Regions from separate parts of the Homo sapiens genome. Here regions 1, 2, 3, 4 and 6 are each linked to region 5. Evidence: promoter capture Hi-C in 16 types of primary human blood cells and fetal thymus (Javierre and others, 2016). All regions are on one chromosome and are shown on one strand. Each heading gives the region's core, a stretch centred on a gene start or on the middle of the fragment in contact. The rest is flanking DNA. Distances are from core to core; before and after follow the strand shown. Region 1 holds the start of NT5DC1 (5'-nucleotidase domain containing 1). Region 2 overlaps CEP85L (centrosomal protein 85L). Region 3 has its middle 110 kb from the start of CEP85L. Region 4 holds the start of TSPYL1 (TSPY like 1). Region 5 holds the start of GOPC (golgi associated PDZ and coiled-coil motif containing). Region 6 holds the start of RWDD1 (RWD domain containing 1).

Region 1 (3,088 bases), core at 505-3,004, 1.5 Mb after region 5:
GAAATTTTATGATCACCTATGGACAACACTAGCTCTAACATGACAGTGGTTTAACAATATTACCTCCAAATGAAGGTAACTAAAGAGGAGACACACAAAACTGTGAACCAGGAAGGATTCGAAAGACACAGAGGGAAGGAAAACATGTATCAAAGACCTAGGGGAAGCAGTGGCCAAAGAATCAAGCAGTAAAAAAGCCTTCTTAATTCTCAATGTGACTAAGGAAACCAGACCTGTAAGGTAAGAAAGCAGGAAAGTGTAACAGCAGAAAAAGGACATTTAAAAAAAAATTTAGCATCTGGGCATAGAAAACACACGAGAAATTCGGGCAGCCACTCTTTTTTGACCTTTAACGTGTACCTGAACTGGTGGGTGCAGGAACTGGCGGGTGCCCATAATGGGGCACAACCCTGGCTGATGTCTGCACCAGTGATCTAGAGTTCTACCCATAAACTGTGAGGTTTCCAAATAGTTTGGGTGGTAACCATAAAAGCAAACACTTGTCTTTGCCAAGGTACTATTCTAAGCATTATACATCTCTTACTCATTTAATCCTTGCAACAATCTTGTGAGGTAAATCCAATTATTAGCTCCATTTTACAGATGGGGAAACTGAGAAGCAGCACAGGTTAAGTAACTTCCTCGAAGTCACAGAGCTAGTAACAGTGGAGCTGGTGTCCTAAGCTAGGCAGTCTGGCTGAGGAGTCCTCGCTTTCACCACTGTACTCATAACCAGCTCTTTTTCTGTCTGGATGCTTAGATCTTGGACTAAAAAAATCTGGTAACTTTTCAAAATTAGTTTCCTTGGGAATTGGGAAACCAAAGGAATAGTGGAGGGAGGGCAATTAATTTGAGTGTACAGGTCTGGAAGCATGCATACTCCATGTCCCCCTCCCTCAGGGCACAGTGAGGACCCAAACTTCGCAGACTGTTGGTAGGACTGGAATGTATTCAAAGTGCACGGAGCACGTAGTCGATGCGCAATAAATATGTATTTTCTTCTCTTGATAGAAGGTAAAACTAGGGCTAAGATCTTAATGACTTTTCAACTAGTGTTCCTTTCAATACACTACACTATATACTACGCATCTCTCCCAGATTGCAGTTTAAACACTGATGGGTGGTTGATCGTGCAAACAGAAAAATGCAGCCAAAAAAAATGCAAGTACCAAATCAAGTGGCTGTGTCCACAATCAGCTGGTGTCCAGAAAGACATGCAGAGAAAGTTCCACGACGTGAGATCTTCAAGGACAGCCCTAGTCCCCCTGACCCCGCCCCTCCTCGGCCCTAGAAATCACCGATTCCCCAGCCCGGTCTTGCGCAGTTTGCCCCTCCTTCGTTCTTCCCTATCCCTCTCAACATTAGCTAATGGCTGAGGTAAATGTGCCGGTCCCCACGGCACCGGCGCGGAGCGGAGGCTGCACACTTCCGCCCCTTCTCGCCGCTGGAGGCCGCGCTCTGCGGCAAGACTCGGCCGCCGCAGGCCCCGGGCAGCGTCCGCCGTTGCCCAAACCTGGAGGAAACTCAAGCCCCAGCCGCCATGGAGGTTGCGCGCAGTGCGCCCCGGAGCCCGCGCCACTCACCGGGGCGCTCTCGGGCAGGTTGTAGCGACACAGAGTGTGGTCCAGGTCGAATCCGACCACGTCGCAGGCGGCCAGGGAGAAGTGCTGAGCCATGGCTGCGCGGGGAGCACCAGGGAGCGCCTCGGCCGCGAAGGGTGCAAGGAGCTGGCTGGCGGGACGCTGCGGGACAGGACCGGGCCGGACGCGGCGGGGCGGGGCTGCGGCTGCCAGGGCACACGGCGCGGCAGCCTCTCCCGCCTCCCGCGCCCTCGAGCACCGCCCCTCGATACGCTTAGCCCCCGCCCCTCGCGCGGCGGGCGTCCTGCGCCGCCCGGAGTCAGGTAGTCAGCTCGCGTCCTCCTGGTACCCCAATGCCGGCGACTCCTGATCTGTTCCGCAAGCCTAGGAGCCCAGAAGGCAGTAGGGGTCCAGGAGCGGTGCCGCTGCTGCACAGCTGAGACCTGTAGGCACGTAGCCTTTCCCGAGGGCTACCACAAAATTAACCGGGACACTCCATCGCCTCAGGGCGCCTCGGAAACCAGGAGATCATGAGGTTAGACCTGACCTTTTACCCCTGTGTGAGGAATAGTAAGATCATAGAAAAAATTCATCCGCTAATATCCCTCTGACCCAGTTAGCCTACAATTTGGAAGGTCTTTTCACCCACGTGATCTTTGATAGTGGTTTAAACCAAAAACTTTATATTCCTTGGTTTCCTAAGTGGTTAAGTGGAAGACAGACCTTTCACTATTTCATACCCTGGAGTGCGTTAGAAAATAAATGTATCAGACATCGTGAAGAACCATTTTGCAAGATGATACTTGTTATGGAAACCAATATTGGTTATTACTTGATAATCCTATTTTGTTATTGTAATGAATTTTTTATGAAAGGGCATCAGAAACTTCATAGAAATATATAGAGCATACTACAAAAAACTTTTGCAAACCGGGTTTAAGGTTTATAGAGCACAAAATGTTTTGAGTGACATTTGCTTAATTCTCTCAAGAACTGTATAACTACTACCATTTTAGATGCAGAGAAAGTTAATCCATTACATACAATGTATGCCTTAGGGCATTTAATTCTCTTCCTGATTTCCGGATGTGAAGGACTAGCACTTTGAGATCTTTATTACATAGTACCTCATTTTAAAAAGAAAATACAAATCTATTATGTTTACACTGCTTCAGTTCTCAATTTAAAGGAACAATGTGTCTAATGGGACAAATCAATAGTCGTGACATAATGAAAATATAATTGATTGAGAACTGCATTTAACCCTTTCAAATACTAATCCTTCTGAGGCTAATAGACCAATCAGAGGATTAATTTAGTGCAATAGATAGTACAATTGAGTAGGAGGACACTTATACCTAGTAGACCCATTTGAATAAAATTGATAACTTGTTCCATTATAACACTTAAAAGCCCCAAACAAATCTCTCTGGAATAGGAAAAGTAAAGAATCTTCAAGAAGATTAAGCTGTTCACTGATGAGTCCAACAATCATGTTTTCAATGTCT
Region 2 (2,953 bases), core at 113-2,612, 1.0 Mb before region 5:
CTGTCTGTCTGTCTGTCTATGAATGAATGATGGAGTTTTGTTCTTGTTGCCCAGGCTGGAGTGCAATGGCACGATCTTGGCTCACTGCAACCTCCACCTCCGGGGTCCAAGCAATTCTCCTGCCTCAGCCTCCCGAGTAGCTGGGATTACAGGCATGTGCCACCACCAGCTAATTTTTTTATTTTCAATAGAGACGGGGTTTCTCCATGTTGGTCAGGCTGTCCTTGAACTCCTGACCTCAGGTGATCCACCTGCCTCAGCCTCCCAAAGTGCTGGGATTACAGGTGTGAGCCACTGCGCCCGGCCACATTTGCTTTTTGTATATTTATCTTGTATTTGTTACCTTGCTGAACTCACGCATTAGTTCTAAGAGTTTGTTTTGGTAGATACCTTGGAATTTTGAATGTAGACAATCACATTGTCTATAAATAAGGAGTTTTTTCTTTCTGATTTGTGTGCCTTTTGTTTTCTTCTCTTGACTTACTGCAGTGACTAGAAGAATCTAGCACAATGTTTATGAGTAGTAGAAGTGGATATCCTTGCCTTGTTTCTGATTACACAGATATAGCATTCAGTCTTTTCACTATTAAGTAGCAGTAGTATAGCTGTTAGCTGTAGGTTTTTGTAGATACCATTTATCAATTTGAGGGCACTTCTTATTCCTAGTTTGCAGAGGGTTTTTATCATGAATAGGTATTAGATGTTGTCAATTTTTTTTCCTCAATGAATTGATTTATGATTTTCTTCTTTAGTTTGTTGATATGGTGGTGCATTTTATTACTTGATTTAAAAAATGTTTAACGAACTTTTTATCCCTGGAATAAGCGCCACTTGGTCATGGTATATAATTCTTTTTATATATTGCTGAATTTTGTTTATAGTTTGTTAAGGATTGTTTTCGTGTATCGATAAGGAATATTGTCCTGTAGTTTTTTTCTCAGGTACTCTCTGGATATCAGGGTTAATACTATAATACCTTTATAAATGAATGGGGAAATGTTCTCTCTTATTTTTTGGAAGAGATTGTATAGAATGGTGCTGATTCTTTTTTATACATTTGGTAGAATTTTCAGTGAAACACTCTGGGCCCAGAATTTTTTTTTTTTTTTTGAGACACAGATTTGCTCTTGTTGCCCAGGCTGGAGTGCAGTGGTGCGATCTCGGGTCACCACAACCTCCAACTCCTGGGTTCAAGCGATTCTCCTTCCTCAGCCTCCCGAGTAGCTGGGATTATAGGTGTGTGCCACCACGCCGGGCTAATCTTTGTAGTTTTAGTAGAGAGAGGATTTTGCCATGTTGACCAGGCTGGTCTTGAACTCCTGACCTCAGGTGATCCACCCGCCTTGGCCCCACAAAGTACTAGGATTACAGGCGTGAGCCACTGCACCTGGCCAGTGGGCCCAGAGATTTTTAATTTTTGAAATTTTAAAATTATGAATTCGATTTCCTTAATAGTTATAAAGTAATTCAAATTATCTGTTTCAAATTGGATGCGTTGCATTTGTTTTTTAGAGGAAGTGGTTGATTTCACCTAAATTATCAAGTTTATGTGTGTAGAATTGTTTATAACATTCTCTTATTATTTGTTAGATGTCTGCAGGCTATGTGGTGATGTCTCCTGTTTCATTTCAGTTATTGTTTTTCTTTCTTTTTTTCGAGACGGAGTTTTGCTCTTGTTGCCCAGGCTGGAGTACAGTGGCGCGATCTCGGCTCACTGCAACCTCTGCCCGCCGGGTTAAGCGATTCTCTTGCCTCAGCCTCCTGAGTAGCTGGGATTACAGGCCCACCACTCCTGGCTAATTTTTGTATTTTTAGTAGAGGGGATTTCTCCATGTTGGTCAGGCTGGTCTCAAACTCCTGACTTCAGGCGATCCGCCCGCCTCGACCTCCCAAAGTGCTGGGATTACAGGTGTGAGCCACCACACCTGGCCTCATTTCAGTTATTGTTAATTTGTGTCTTCCTGCCTTGTTTTTCAGTTTTGGTAGCAGTTTGTTGATTTTACTGATCTCTACAAAGAACCATCTCCTGATCACATTAATTTTCTCATTTGTTTTCTGTTTTCAATTTCAGCAATTTCTGCTCTTTGTTGCTTCCTTTTTTTCTGCTTTGGGTCTGTTGAACTCTTCTTTTTTTCTAGGTTCTTGTTAGCAGATTAGATTACTGATTTGAGAGTCCCCCCCCCCCCCCCCCGCTTTTTTTTTTTTTTGAGACAGAGTCTCACTCTGTCGCCCAGGCTAGAGTGCAGTGGTGCAGTCTCGGCTCACTGCCAGCTCCGCCTCCTGGTTCACACCATTCTCCTGCCTCAGCCTCCCCAGTAGCTGGGACTACAGGCACCCGTCACCATGCCTGGCTAATTTTTTTTTTTTTTGTATTTTTAGTAGAGACAGGGTTTCACTATGTTAGCCAGGATCTGGATCTCCTGACCTCATGATCCACCCGCCTCGGCCTCACAAAGTGCCGGGATTATAGGTGTGAGCCACCGCACCTGGCCGTTTGCCACTTTTAAAATATGCTATTATAAATTTTCCTCTCAGAACTGCTTTAGCTGTGTCCCACAAATTTTGATATTTTATATTTTCATTTTAGTTCAGTGTGGTTTTTTTTTTTATTTGCCTTATGACTTCCTCTTTGCTTCTCAGGACTGTAAGTGTGTTGTTTAGTTTCAAAGTGTTTGGAGATTTTCCTGCTGTCTTTCTGTTATTAATTTCTAGTTTTTTCCATTGTAGCCAGAAACTCTTCATGTGATTTCAGTCCTTTAAATTTGTTGACATTTGTTTTAGGGCCCACCGTATGGTATATTTGATGTATGTTCTGTGGGTACTTGGAAAGAATGTGTATTCTGCTGTTGTAGTGGGGGAGTGTCCTATAAATGTTGATTAGATCTTGTTTATGTTGAGTTCTGTATACTTGATGATTTTCTGTCTAGTTTTTCTATCAGTTGTTGAAAGAGGA
Region 3 (2,987 bases), core at 201-2,700, 1.2 Mb before region 5:
GCTCCAACCACTGGCAGGGGATGAGTACTTTATTTCTTTGATCCTCTGCTTCTTGAACTCTCAACTGAGAGCGTCTGCAGATTGGCCAGTTCTCATTTATCTAAAAATCTGCTGGCCCCCTTCTTGTTGGCCTAACATAGAGCTTTGGAATTGCTTGGTTGCCTTACTGAATGTGTTCACCTAGGATAGGATATTCCCAAGTGGGATCATACAGTGGTTGCCTAGTATTTCACCAAAATTCTCCTATTTAAAACATTTTACAATCTTTTGTAAAATGGGTTTTACACATTGAGGCACACATGAGGCACATCAGGAGGGCAAGTACTTTCTAAAGCATTTCATTCAACTACCTTGGTTCATGCCTGCTCCTAGTCCCATCCCCGTCATCGAGACAGGACACAGTCCTCCAGTCAGCTCAGTCTTTCATCACTGATTCTTGGCACAGAGAGGGTCTTATCGCTGGTTCCTTCAGATGCCACAAACGTCCTCTCTAGCCTCCTTTCCCCCTAACACTATCATTCTAGTCTAGCGCCTCACCCCATACCTGGGCTCTTTAGTAAGTTCCAATAATATGTGCGGAGTGCCTACCATGTACTATGTTGAACACAGAGGGAGGATGCAAACTGAGTCAGTTAGGACCCCAGAGCAGGGAAGCTTATCTAGACTTACAAATAACCAAGTAGATAAGGTGTGGGAGGCAGAACAATGGCCCCTAAAGGATGTCCACATCTTAGTTCCCAGAACCTGTGACTATGTTTCTTTGCATAGCAAAAGCAACTTTGCAGATGCAATTAAATCAAGGAATTTGAGATGATGAGATTTTTCCTGAATTATCTGCATGGGCCTAATATATTCACAAGGGTCTTTACAGAGGAAAGGCAGAAGGGCCCAAGTCAGAGAAGGAGATGTGATGACAGAGACAGAGGTCGACGTGATAAGGGGACATAAACCAAGGGATAGAGGCGGCCTCTAGAAACTAGAAAAGACAGAGAAACAGATTGTCCCTGAAGTCTTCACAAGGAACCAGACTGTTGCCCCATTGTGGACTTCTGACCTCCAGAACTATAACATAAATAGTGTTGATTTAAGCTACTGAATTTGTGGTAATTTGGTTGTTTTTTTGTTTTAAAATTTCAGCTTTAATTTTAGATATGGGGGGTACCAGTGTAGGACTGTTACATGGGGATATTGGACCCAGGTAATGAGCATAGCACCCAACAGTAGTTTTTCAATCCACGCCCCTCTCCCTCCCTCGTGCCTCTAATAGTCCACAGTGTCTATTGTTCCCATGTTTATGTCCATGTGTGCTCAATGTTTCACTCCCAGTTACAAGTGAGGACATGTAGTATTTGGTTTTCTGTTCCTATGTTAATTTGCTTAGGATAATGGCCTCCAGCTCCATCCACGTTCCTGCAAAGGACATCATTTCATTCTTTTTTCCATCTGCATAGTATTTCATGGTGTATATGTACCGCATTTTCTTTATCCAATCCACTATTGATGGGCACCTAGTTGATTCCATGCCTTTTTTATTGTGAATAGAACAGCAATGAATATACGAGTTCATGTGTCTTTTTGGTACAATGATCTATATTCCTTTGGGTATACACAGTAATGGGATTGCTAGGTCAAATGGTATCTCTGTTTTAAGTTCTTTAAGAAATCTCCAAGCTGCTTTCTGTAGTGGCTGAACTAATTTACATTCCCACCAACAGTGAATAAGCCTTCTCTTTTCTCCGCAGCCTTGCTAGTATATGTTCTTTTTTTTGACTTATTAATAAAAGCCATTCTGACTGGTGTGAGATGGTATCTCATTGTGTCATTGTGGTTTTGATTTGCATTTTTTGATGATGAGTGACAATGAGCATTTTTTCATATGTTTGTTGGCTGCTTGTATGTCTTCTTTTGAGAAGTGTCTGTTTATGCCCTTTGCCGAATTTTATGGGAGATTTGTTTTTTACTTGTTGATTTGTTTAAGTTCCTTATAGATTCTGGACTAATACATAGAATAAAAGACAGAGAAAGGAAAACTTACAATGGCAGAGGCCAACCAATACCATTTGGATGAAAAAAGATATGGGAGCACAGGAGAAGGTATGATCCATTCTGCCTGGGATATGGGAAACTTCCAGTGTAAATAGTTCTCCCAGACATCTCTCTACTCCAACCTGGTTACTAACCTGCCTACTGGAGTCTCTACAAGGATATAAAAAAGACTATTCAACCTCAATACTTTTGAAGCTTGTGAATTTTACCCCCAAATCTGTTCTTCCTTTAGTGTTTCTTCAGTGAGTGACACCACCACAGATCCCTCTGCATGGCCAGAAACAGGAACTCTCCATGCACGGGAAGCTGTGTTCTATGAACCAGCATTTGTCAAAATACTGGGCACCTGACTGCAGCGCAAAACAAATTCATTGTCATTGCTCAACAGATTTCTTTCTCTTGAGTGTAATCATTTATTTTAAACTGGAATTCATTCTAAAAGGGGCTAGACATTATTTCCAGATTCCAAGTGTAATTTAAAAAATTCGAAAGATAGGAGTGTCTGAGTAAACTGCAAGAGAAAGAGGCCTATTTTAGATGTGAAACCCTAAAATAATGGGATCACATTTTAGGAGGTATAAAAGCCATTTAAAACCATAATAGAACACCCTTGATTTTTGCTATTCAGAGCAAAAGATCCAAAATCAAAGATAAAAATCCATGCTAATTCAGAACACATTACATTTTTACCCCTTATTACTACTAGATAGTATACTATACTATATACTACAGCATTATACCACAGTGGTATGCTATATTATACTACAATATTCAGCCTCCAAATACAATGCAGACCATATATTTAATCAAGGCTTTATAGGTTTTGAAGAATGTTTAGCTTCCCCTTTGGAAGCATCTAGCTGTGACTCAATAAAGCCTCACAGTGATGCTTGCTTGAGTTACTGTTCTCATAGTTAGTACCTGAGCCGAATGCTGGGGCA
Region 4 (2,905 bases), core at 72-2,571, 1.3 Mb after region 5:
TGCCTTTATTCCTACGATCCTGGCTCCTTCCTCCATCTTCAAAGCCAGCAACATAGCGATTTCCCTTTCCTCCCTCCCACACCTATTCTCCACCATTCCTTCCCTCTCTCTGTGCTTTCGTCCTCTTATCTTCTCTGACTGACCCTCCTGCCTCCTTCTTATAAGAAATTTGTAATTCCATAGGGCCCACCTGTATAATCCAGAATCATCTTCTCATCTCCAAATCTTTAACTTAATCATATCTGCGAAGTCCCTTTGGCCGCATAACTAAGACAGGTACATCTTTGAGGGCCATCAGGCTACTACCACACAAAGCAAATTAAGTAGAAAATAACGTTTGCCTCTTTTATACCTTGAGTCCACCAGCTGCATGTTGCCCTTTGCAAGTTTGTTTTCTACTTCAAGGCCATCTTAGTTGTCCATTTTAACTAGCCTTTCCTCACAAAATGGTGGTATGTGGCTCCCCCCACTGATATTTCTCTGAGGCCTTGTAGCTCTCTAAGACAGCACCAGTTTAACTCACAAGTCAACAAACTGGAACACTTCAACCAGAGACATTGACATCCCCCTCTAATGAACTCAGCTGATTGCTAAAGACAGATGCTTCGTTAGAGCCAAACATTCCTATCTTACATAACTAAATATGATAATAAATTAAGTTCTTGGGGCTGGAAATAGTTATAATTTCCTCTTTCTTGCAGTGAAAAGGCATGGAACATTTAGCAAACTGATCCTGGCTTAATTTCTACCGATACTATGCAGCACAAACTCTTATTTGATGCAGATTATAAATCGAAAATTAGCAATGAATACTATGCATCGCTTTAGTGGTAAGAGGCTGCTGAGTAGCTTTTTTTCCCCAGTAACCGTAGAGGCAAGAATTGATATTTTTATGTCACTTTTACTAAGAAGGGGGGAAACATTTTGCTATTAATCTTAAAGAGAAGTCTTTTGCTGCTAGTTACGTGGAGTAACAGGGAATAGATTTACCTTCCTGCCTCAAAAAAGTGAAGACCAGAAAAACATTTGTTTTCAGACACTGGAGAGCAGGCACTGTTACGGCTGTGATTTTACAACTGCTCCTACATGCTGGGAGCAGTCGCTAGATGCATCTCAAGGTGGGTCGTCCGCGCTTCCAGACTCAGCACAATCGACATTTATTTACGTAGGTAAAATTACTGTTGCTATGGGTAAATTCACAGAAATAAAGCCCAGAGAATCCGGTTGGCTGGCAGGGAGCGGCGGAACCAATCCCGGGCTCAGCAAGTTCTCGCGATACCGTGAGATCTCCAGTCCTGACGACACCGCCGCTGAAATGTTAGTGAGACTGTAGGGTGGGCGGTGCGAGCGGCGGTTAGCTCCCAGTTCGGCCTCTGAGGAAAACGGGCGTTCGCCTGCGGTTGGTCCGACTGTTAGCAACATGAGCGGCCTGGATGGGGTCAAGAGGACCACTCCCCTCCAAACCCACAGCATCATTATTTCTGACCAAGTCCCGAGCGACCAGGACGCACACCAGTACCTGAGGCTCCGCGACCAAAGCGAGGCGACACAGGTGATGGCGGAGCCGGGTGAGGGAGGCTCGGAGACCGTCGCGCTCCCGCCTCCACCGCCTTCAGAGGAGGGGGGCGTACCCCAGGATGCCGCGGGCCGTGGCGGTACTCCCCAGATCCGAGTTGTTGGGGGTCGCGGTCATGTGGCGATCAAAGCCGGGCAGGAAGAGGGCCAGCCTCCCGCCGAAGGCCTGGCAGCCGCTTCTGTGGTGATGGCAGCCGACCGCAGCCTGAAAAAGGGCGTTCAGGGTGGAGAGAAGGCCCTAGAAATCTGTGGCGCCCAGAGATCCGCGTCTGAGCTGACGGCGGGGGCGGAGGCTGAGGCGGAGGAGGTGAAGACAGGAAAGTGCGCCACCGTCTCAGCAGCCGTGGCTGAGAGGGAGAGCGCTGAGGTGGTGAAGGAAGGCCTGGCGGAGAAGGAGGTAATGGAGGAGCAGATGGAGGTAGAGGAGCAGCCGCCAGAAGGTGAAGAAATAGAAGTGGCGGAGGAGGATAGATTGGAGGAGGAGGCGAGGGAGGAAGAAGGGCCCTGGCCTTTGCATGAGGCTCTCCGCATGGACCCTCTGGAGGCCATCCAGCTGGAACTGGACACTGTGAATGCTCAGGCCGACAGGGCCTTCCAACAGCTGGAGCACAAGTTTGGGCGGATGCGTCGACACTACCTGGAGCGGAGGAACTACATCATTCAGAATATCCCGGGCTTCTGGATGACTGCTTTTCGAAACCACCCCCAGTTGTCCGCCATGATTAGGGGCCAAGATGCAGAGATGTTAAGGTACATAACCAATTTAGAGGTGAAGGAACTCAGACACCCTAGAACCGGTTGCAAGTTCAAGTTCTTCTTTAGAAGAAACCCCTACTTCAGAAACAAGCTGATTGTCAAGGAATATGAGGTAAGATCCTCCGGCCGAGTGGTGTCTCTTTCTACTCCAATTATATGGCGCAGGGGGCATGAACCCCAGTCCTTCATTCGCAGAAACCAAGACCTCATCTGCAGCTTCTTCACTTGGTTTTCAGACCACAGCCTTCCAGAGTCCGACAAAATTGCTGAGATTATTAAAGAGGATCTGTGGCCAAATCCACTGCAATACTACCTGTTGCGTGAAGGAGTCCGTAGAGCCCGACGTCGCCCGCTAAGGGAGCCTGTAGAGATCCCCAGGCCCTTTGGGTTCCAGTCTGGTTAACATTTGCCCTTGGGAATACTCCTGCACAAGGTCTCCTACCACCTTCTGCTGGACCTGTGCTTGGGCATCAGCAATGAGTATGCCTTCTATTGTGCTTTGTTTTTGCTGACTTTTCTGCACCCTGTTTCCTTTGGATATTCAGTTCTCTCAACCTCAAGATTGAGACGGTGG
Region 5 (3,115 bases), core at 597-3,096:
AACTGTATTATGTGTAGATAAAGTGGCTGGGAGCTTGATAGCTGTAGCAATGTTTTTGCAAATATTGTAGATGAAAATAAAGCTAATTTTGGAAGGGAATGGGGAAAGATGTAAATTTTAGTTTTACATTATTTATTGTGTACTAAAACCTGTATGAAGGTCCCTACTTAAGTCTAAGGTCAGGATCTCATGATCCATTTTGATTAGCTAAGTTTGCTCAAGCCAAAGGACTTTATTGCTTCATGCTAACCAGTCTGCCATGCAGTACAAAGACTGCAATAATAAAATTGTGATTTCTTGCTCCTCAGTTGCCTTGCATCAGCGAAGGGCACACAATGCAGGCTTTGGGTTGTGATTAACCGTAAGGGTCTGCCCCAAGAACAGATAACAGCAGACTGCACTCAGCTAAATATGCTTCTAGGTAATGCAGGAGTTTCCACCAGCCTACTCTAATCACACAGGTTTCTCTTTCCCTTTCTAGGACTGTCTACCCTTGAACTGGAAGTAGGCAGAATGTAAAGAGAGGAGTTGCTGGATACTTTTAAAGGCACTGAAAAATTCAAGTTAAAGTTATAGTTGAGGGGTAGTAGCCTCACTAGCCTATCTTGAGTAAGGGTCATGTCTCATTCATTTTTGTGTCTTCAATGTCGCAACAGAGCTCTGCATTCAATATATTTGTAAATATATGAATTCACAATTTTGATTTTCTGAAATGTCACGTGTGAGGACACTACCAGTTTTCAAATAAATACACCTTTTAAAGTACAGTTATGTGCCAAATAACAAGGCTTCAGCAATGAATGGATCGCATAAACTATGGTGATCCTATAAGAGTATATGACTGTACCTTTTCTATGTTTAGATATGTTTAAGTACACAAATAGTTACCACTGTGTTATAATCGCCTACCGTATCCAGAATGGCAACATGCTGTACAGGTTTACAGCCTAAGAGCAATAGGCTACATCATATAGCCTGGGTGTGTAGTAGGCTATACTATCTAGGTTTGTGTTTAAATACACTCTAGGATGTTCCCTAAGGGATGATTAACCTAAGGACACATTCCTAAGAACATATCCCCATCTTAAGTGAAGCACTACTGTAGTTGCTTTTGAAATGTGTGACCTATGGTGTATTAAGAGGAATACCGTGTGCCAAGAAGTGACGCTAAGCGTTTTACCTTACAACTGAGTTAAGTAAAATTTGGAAACTTGGTTTCGAGGTTAATACATGAAAGGCGACACAGGTAGTATGTGACAGAGGGTAAGAATTGAATCCAGGTCTACCTGACTCTTAATCACAAGACAAAAAGTCTTCTATTAATTCCGCAAAATCTGGTCAGCCGCTTCAATGCGCAGCTTTAGGCAGTCCACACCTGGAATTTGGGGTCTGGTTTACCAAGAACAGCCAGTGTGTACACCCACTCCATCCTATCCAGGAACTGGAATCGAGAAGGTAAAAACGTGGCTATTGCGCATGCTCACACCGCCCTTCCTTGCTCTCCCCTCCCTGACCCTAGATGCCACCGCAGCAACTTTCTGGGAGGATTTTGGAACGGCTCCCGCCAACTGTTAAGTCAAACCGGCGGAAATCCTTCCTTTCTGCGACGTGGACACCTTTCTCATCCTCGGGCCTTTCCAACCAGGGTGCAGAAACCACGCGCCTCCGTTTCTCAGGGATTCAAGCCGTAGTTTGCCAGTTGTTAATATGGCCGCTGACAGGCCGCTCCCAAGCTGAGGCCTTTCATAGGCCAAGATCGCATCCTGTCCCCGCCTATTTTGTCCCTCGTGGCTGCGTCCGCCCAGCTCTTCGCTACGCATGCGCAGCGGGGGCAGGCTGGGAGGTGGGACTGACTGAGTCTTCCGTGTGTCGCCGCCGTTGCCGCCTCAGCTTCAGCCTCGTTACTCCTGCGGTTCTGTGACTGTGCTGCTGGCGTTAACGGCGCGAGGTGAAGGGAGGTGACGGAGTGTGCCCGCGCGCGCGGGGGTCCCCTCAGTCCCAGCAGTTCCCTTCGTGCGCGGGGGGCGGCGAGGGTCTTCAGCAGTCGGGAGAGGCCCTTGACGGCGCCATGTCGGCGGGCGGTCCATGCCCAGCAGCAGCCGGAGGGGGCCCAGGGGGCGCCTCCTGCTCCGTGGGGGCCCCTGGCGGGGTATCCATGTTCCGGTGGCTGGAGGTGCTGGAGAAGGAGTTCGACAAAGCTTTTGTGGATGTGGATCTGCTCCTGGGAGAGATCGATCCAGACCAAGCGGACATCACTTATGAGGGGCGACAGAAGATGACCAGCCTGAGCTCCTGCTTTGCACAGCTTTGCCACAAAGCCCAGTCTGTGTCTCAAATCAACCACAAGCTGGAGGTGAGCCGTGGGTGCTGGCGGCTATGGCATCCAACCCCAGGCTGCCCGGTGGCGTCAGATGCCATTTAACGCTCCAGTGAAACGACCCTAGAAAACTGCCCACCGGGGCTTCAAATGTGATGGGAGAGTGCATGTCTGAGGAGTGAGGTGAGGGTGGGGGACAAAAAGGGCCCTAGACCGACGTGTGAGTTCCCGGGGTACTGTCGTCCACCTTCCTAGTATCTCTCTGAGGAGGAAACTAATTACATACACCAGCCTCCATTGCACATGTTACATTAACAAACCTAACAAAGATTCTCTGTCATGAAAATACCGTAGGCCACCTTTTGACAACTGAGTTTTGCAGATCTGCTTTCACATTGATAAACCGAATTTGTATATGTTAAGACAGATACAGCACTGATTATTTTCATTTTAATTATTCCAGGTCAGCGCCTATGATTGCATACAGAGACATGCATAAACTATTTAGGGGAATCTGATCAAAGCTCTTAGGAAAATTTCGTGGTGCATAACGATAGTATCACTGTCTCGGTTTACATCCATAGTTGGTTGTTAAATTACAGGCAGATACCTCCAGAGAGCTCCCTGCAATTATTGAAATTACTTCTGACCTTGAGTTTTTATATGCTTGTACATTACTGTGTAATTTTCCAAAGTCTGGATTTATTTTTGAGAGAGTGTAAAGAATCATTTGCTTTAATCTCTGATCCTGGGTGTGGGTGAGGGTGGAGTGGCTGTGGTTCAAAAAAACAAAAATAT
Region 6 (3,165 bases), core at 657-3,156, 1.0 Mb after region 5:
GAATACCTGAATGCATCAAAAGATTCATAAATTGTCTTTTATTACCCTGGCTCAGAATCCTCAAGCACTTGGGCATCTGATAAGAATTTCACATAGCGAACTATACCAGAGCTGTCAGGGCCTAGTACAATTTGAAATACCCACAAGATTATTTCAGGGTTAAAAACAAAAAAAGATATCAGTTTTATAAATGCTTATATGCATAGGATTTAGCGAGGGATAGCTTATGTCCAAAGAAATGAAAAGAATAGCACATCCTGCTGTCTTGACTCTGCCTACAGTGTTCATACCTAGTATGTTTCCAAAGTACTGGAAATGACCAAACATGATTAAGAATATATCCAACAACTGACCCTATATTCTATTTTAGACATACACATATAAGCAAGGATAGAGAAGGGAGCCAGACTCCATACACACTCACCCAGTTAATGACACTCTCAAACCCCTCTTCACTCATCCCCTTAACATCCTCACAGCACAGATGTACTGCTGGTGAGAGAGAACATGAACAGGACTGGAGCTATACAGGGATAGCTGAGAGACATCTGCCTGTTGGCAAAGCAGAACAAAATTTGCTACCATTGCAAGCAGTGGTCAAAAGGTGAAGCCAAGAAAACTAAGCTAAACAATGAAAGGGAGAGGGGTTGGAATTTATAAGTTAAAGTAATATACCTTACACTATAAATTCTGACTATCAACGATAGGCAACACTCAAAGGAAAGGATGGGGAATGTAAATGCACACACCTAGGTTCTACTCACTCATATTGGCTTTATTTGACCGCTTCTCAAATCTCAGAGGAGCCATATTGATATAGTTATGTAGCATTTTTATAATCATCCGAAGCATGGCTTAATAGAGAAATCTCGTCCTCTAAATTATACCTAATGAACTTCTCATTATAATATTTTACATTAGCCCAACCTACCAAGTAATCTTCTGCTCTCTCAATCTCAGCTGGAGCTGAATCCCAAGTCCCATATGTCTGGAAAGTGAAAGAACAGGCAAGCGTTCTGGACGTATAACTCAGTACCAGCCCTGCCGCTAACTCGCTGGCGGACAGTACAGAGCAAGCCACTTAGCTTTCCTGAACCCCCATGACCTTGGCTTGGAGCAGGAGCCCCAGGATAGATGATGTTTAATCTCCCTTCCAATCTAACAACCTATGAATTTATAGCAGAACGGAAATTTGGGCCACATTATCCATTAGGCATTCTGCTGAATGCCAGATTTTTTTTTTTTTCATAAGAAAAGAAACCCGACAGACTTCAGGGACTATGCTACTCTCAAAACCGATTTGAGTAACTGAAAACAGCACTCTGAATCCTATAAACTAAAACAGCATCGTATGAAAAACAGTTTCTACCTTAATAAAGCTAAAAATGTGAAAACTAACATTCTTGCGGCTGTGGAAAAACGAATCGCACTTGGAGTATTTTTTCTCTTAATGTATTATAAATCTCAGGTTGCTGTAGGTTACACAGAAACCAAAGTAATCCCGACTCAATTTTCAGGCCTGACACCCTCCAACATCACCCGGACTTTTAGATTTCCGGGAACAAGCAGAGAAGGAGAAAAAGTCACTGGGTTGCTGGTAAGTGACTGAAGAACTTGAGGAGTGGAGGGCAAGGTGGCCGCGCGGCCTCAAGGTCCCCTTCTCCACCCCAACCTATGAGGCCCAGAGCTGCGGCAGCTCCTGCCCGTCCTACTCCACCTCGGGGCGGCTACAGGCTTGCGGCCGCGGGAGTCACCTGTGAAGGAGTCAGGGTAGATGGACTCCAGGGCCTCCAGCTCGTTGCGCTGCTCCTCGCCGTAATCTGTCATCGTGGCCCTTGCTCTTGCCCATAGATCGCCCAGACACCTAGGCGGCGCGCAGCAGCCCAGACAGCTGCCGCGCCGGGAGAGCGGGCGGCGGCCAGGCGGGCGCAGGCGCAGAGTCCCCGGCTGGAAGGCCCAGGGCCCAAAGCCAGACCCGGCTTGCTTAACTGCAGCTCCGCGCCGGCCTCCGCCTGCTCCCTACTTCCACGTTCGACTCGTTCTGCCTGGCCAGGGGGCACTGATTTGCTGCCTGTCCCACACTCGCTCGGGACTTGCTGGGACGGTGCGCGCGGTCTGGCATTCGCCAAGGACACCTACAGCCGGCTCCTGGGCTTTGCAGGGCCTGAGCCTTAGAAGCCTCTCAGCGCTGCATCCTCGCTCGATGAGTCTGGGCTGAAAGGCCGGCATCGCGCGTCAGTGAAGGATAGTGTCGCTGGTGGCCGGGCTGGGGCGAGGGGCGTCCGATGCCTTCACCTTTTCTGGTTTCCGGTTTGACGCCGTGGCGTAGGTGCTGCGGGCTTGCAACCTAGTGTGGACTGGTGGGGCTCAGGAGATTTCTGAGCTTCTCGAACTCCGTATTGCTTGGCGTCCTACGGGAGTTGGACGAGAGGCTGGGACCAGTGTAGATTCCACTGGGCAGGGGAGCAAAAGCTCTGCACTGCCTTGAATGAGTATGGAAGGGTCGGTCTAACTGCTTAATAAGTCGGGGTGGATCCAGGAGGGAGAAATAGACCGGAGGTCCGGCTTCTCGGTTCAGATCTTTAGGCTTAACTTCTGATTTTGTGAAATGAACGCAGCTGGACGTATGATAGATCTCAAGATGTCTGTGATTGTGTATTTGTGAATTGATGAAAGGAATGTAGATCTCAGTAATAACAATTATCATATGCAATGTAAAAATTGCAGTACCCCGAGAAATGTTGAGAACCTTTAATTTGGTAATACGACTTCCAAGAATAAACTTGAGCAAGTAGCATGCATCTGTGATCTCCAAAATCATTGCAGCAATTACAAAGAAAATTTTCAAAGAACCATGATGGCAAAAGCTAAGAAAATGGCTAAATAAACATGGTTAGCTTTATGAAAATGATATTAAAAACTATGGTAACAATAATAAAGGATCCCATGTTCCTTTATTATATTATTGCGCTAAGTCGAAAAATGGAAAATTTTAAGAAAATACTCAAAAGCTGTTGCCCACTTTTCTGTATTTTTCTTTGTTTTGATTTCTCTGTATTAAAGCTGGTTTCACTGGTATAGTGGGAGGAACACTTTTTAAATGAAAGATTCCTAATGATGAAGCCCCTGAAGCACCAGAAGGCACCTTGATCTTTTATTGAGGAG

The links. The method cuts DNA at HindIII sites, captures the fragments that hold promoters and counts their contacts. A CHiCAGO score of 5 or more calls a contact.
Region 1: the fragment with the promoter of NT5DC1 here is called in contact with the fragment with the promoter of GOPC in region 5 in 2 of 17 cell types (non-activated CD4 T cells and naive CD8 T cells); the score reaches 5.9 in non-activated CD4 T cells.
Region 2: a fragment that was not itself captured here is called in contact with the fragment with the promoter of GOPC in region 5 in 1 of 17 cell types (neutrophils); the score reaches 7.1 in neutrophils.
Region 3: a fragment that was not itself captured here is called in contact with the fragment with the promoter of GOPC in region 5 in 1 of 17 cell types (neutrophils); the score reaches 8.5 in neutrophils.
Region 4: the fragment with the promoter of TSPYL1 here is called in contact with the fragment with the promoter of GOPC in region 5 in 1 of 17 cell types (total CD8 T cells); the score reaches 6.5 in total CD8 T cells.
Region 6: a contact is called between the fragment with the promoter of RWDD1 here and the fragment with the promoter of GOPC in region 5, in 2 of 17 cell types (non-activated CD4 T cells and total CD4 T cells). The highest score is 6.6, in non-activated CD4 T cells.

What each region holds. Positions count from the first base shown.
Region 1 is chr6:116,099,519-116,102,606 of GRCh38, reverse strand. It overlaps NT5DC1 (5'-nucleotidase domain containing 1), which reads right to left and starts at 1,754. Exons shown (of 12, transcript NM_152729.3): 1 at 1,584-1,754. The coding sequence starts at 1,676. It also overlaps a transcript of FRK not described here. RefSeq lists enhancers at 1,051-1,571, 1,572-2,094 and a silencer at 1,679-1,938. The HindIII fragment of the contact is 3,203 bases long and covers 1-3,088 here.
Region 2 is chr6:118,611,915-118,614,867 of GRCh38, reverse strand. All of the region lies in intron 2 of CEP85L (centrosomal protein 85L), which reads left to right. Among named protein-coding and RNA genes, the nearest start is that of CEP85L, 38 kb to the left of the region's middle. RefSeq lists a silencer at 2,755-2,953. The HindIII fragment of the contact is 3,565 bases long and covers 1-2,953 here.
Region 3 is chr6:118,764,332-118,767,318 of GRCh38, reverse strand. No RefSeq gene overlaps it. Among named protein-coding and RNA genes, the nearest start is that of CEP85L, 110 kb to the right of the region's middle. The HindIII fragment of the contact is 1,587 bases long and covers 657-2,243 here.
Region 4 is chr6:116,278,346-116,281,250 of GRCh38, reverse strand. It overlaps TSPYL1 (TSPY like 1), which reads left to right and starts at 1,321. Exons shown (of 1, transcript NM_003309.4): 1 at 1,321-2,905. The coding sequence starts at 1,421. The coding sequence ends at 2,734. It also overlaps a transcript of DSE not described here. RefSeq lists enhancers at 1,328-1,387, 1,618-1,887, 1,908-1,957. The HindIII fragment of the contact is 6,415 bases long and covers 1-2,905 here.
Region 5 is chr6:117,601,242-117,604,356 of GRCh38, reverse strand. GOPC (golgi associated PDZ and coiled-coil motif containing) reads left to right here and starts at 1,846. Exons shown (of 9, transcript NM_020399.4): 1 at 1,846-2,353. The coding sequence starts at 2,069. It also overlaps the pseudogene NEPNP. RefSeq lists enhancers at 1,455-1,744, 1,875-1,964. The HindIII fragment of the contact is 3,398 bases long and covers 1-2,200 here.
Region 6 is chr6:116,570,245-116,573,409 of GRCh38, reverse strand. RWDD1 (RWD domain containing 1) reads right to left here and starts at 1,906. Exons shown (of 7, transcript NM_015952.4): 1 at 1,755-1,906. The coding sequence starts at 1,827. RefSeq lists enhancers at 1,652-1,751, 1,972-2,301, 2,332-2,511 and a silencer at 1,852-1,931. The HindIII fragment of the contact is 4,586 bases long and covers 1-3,165 here.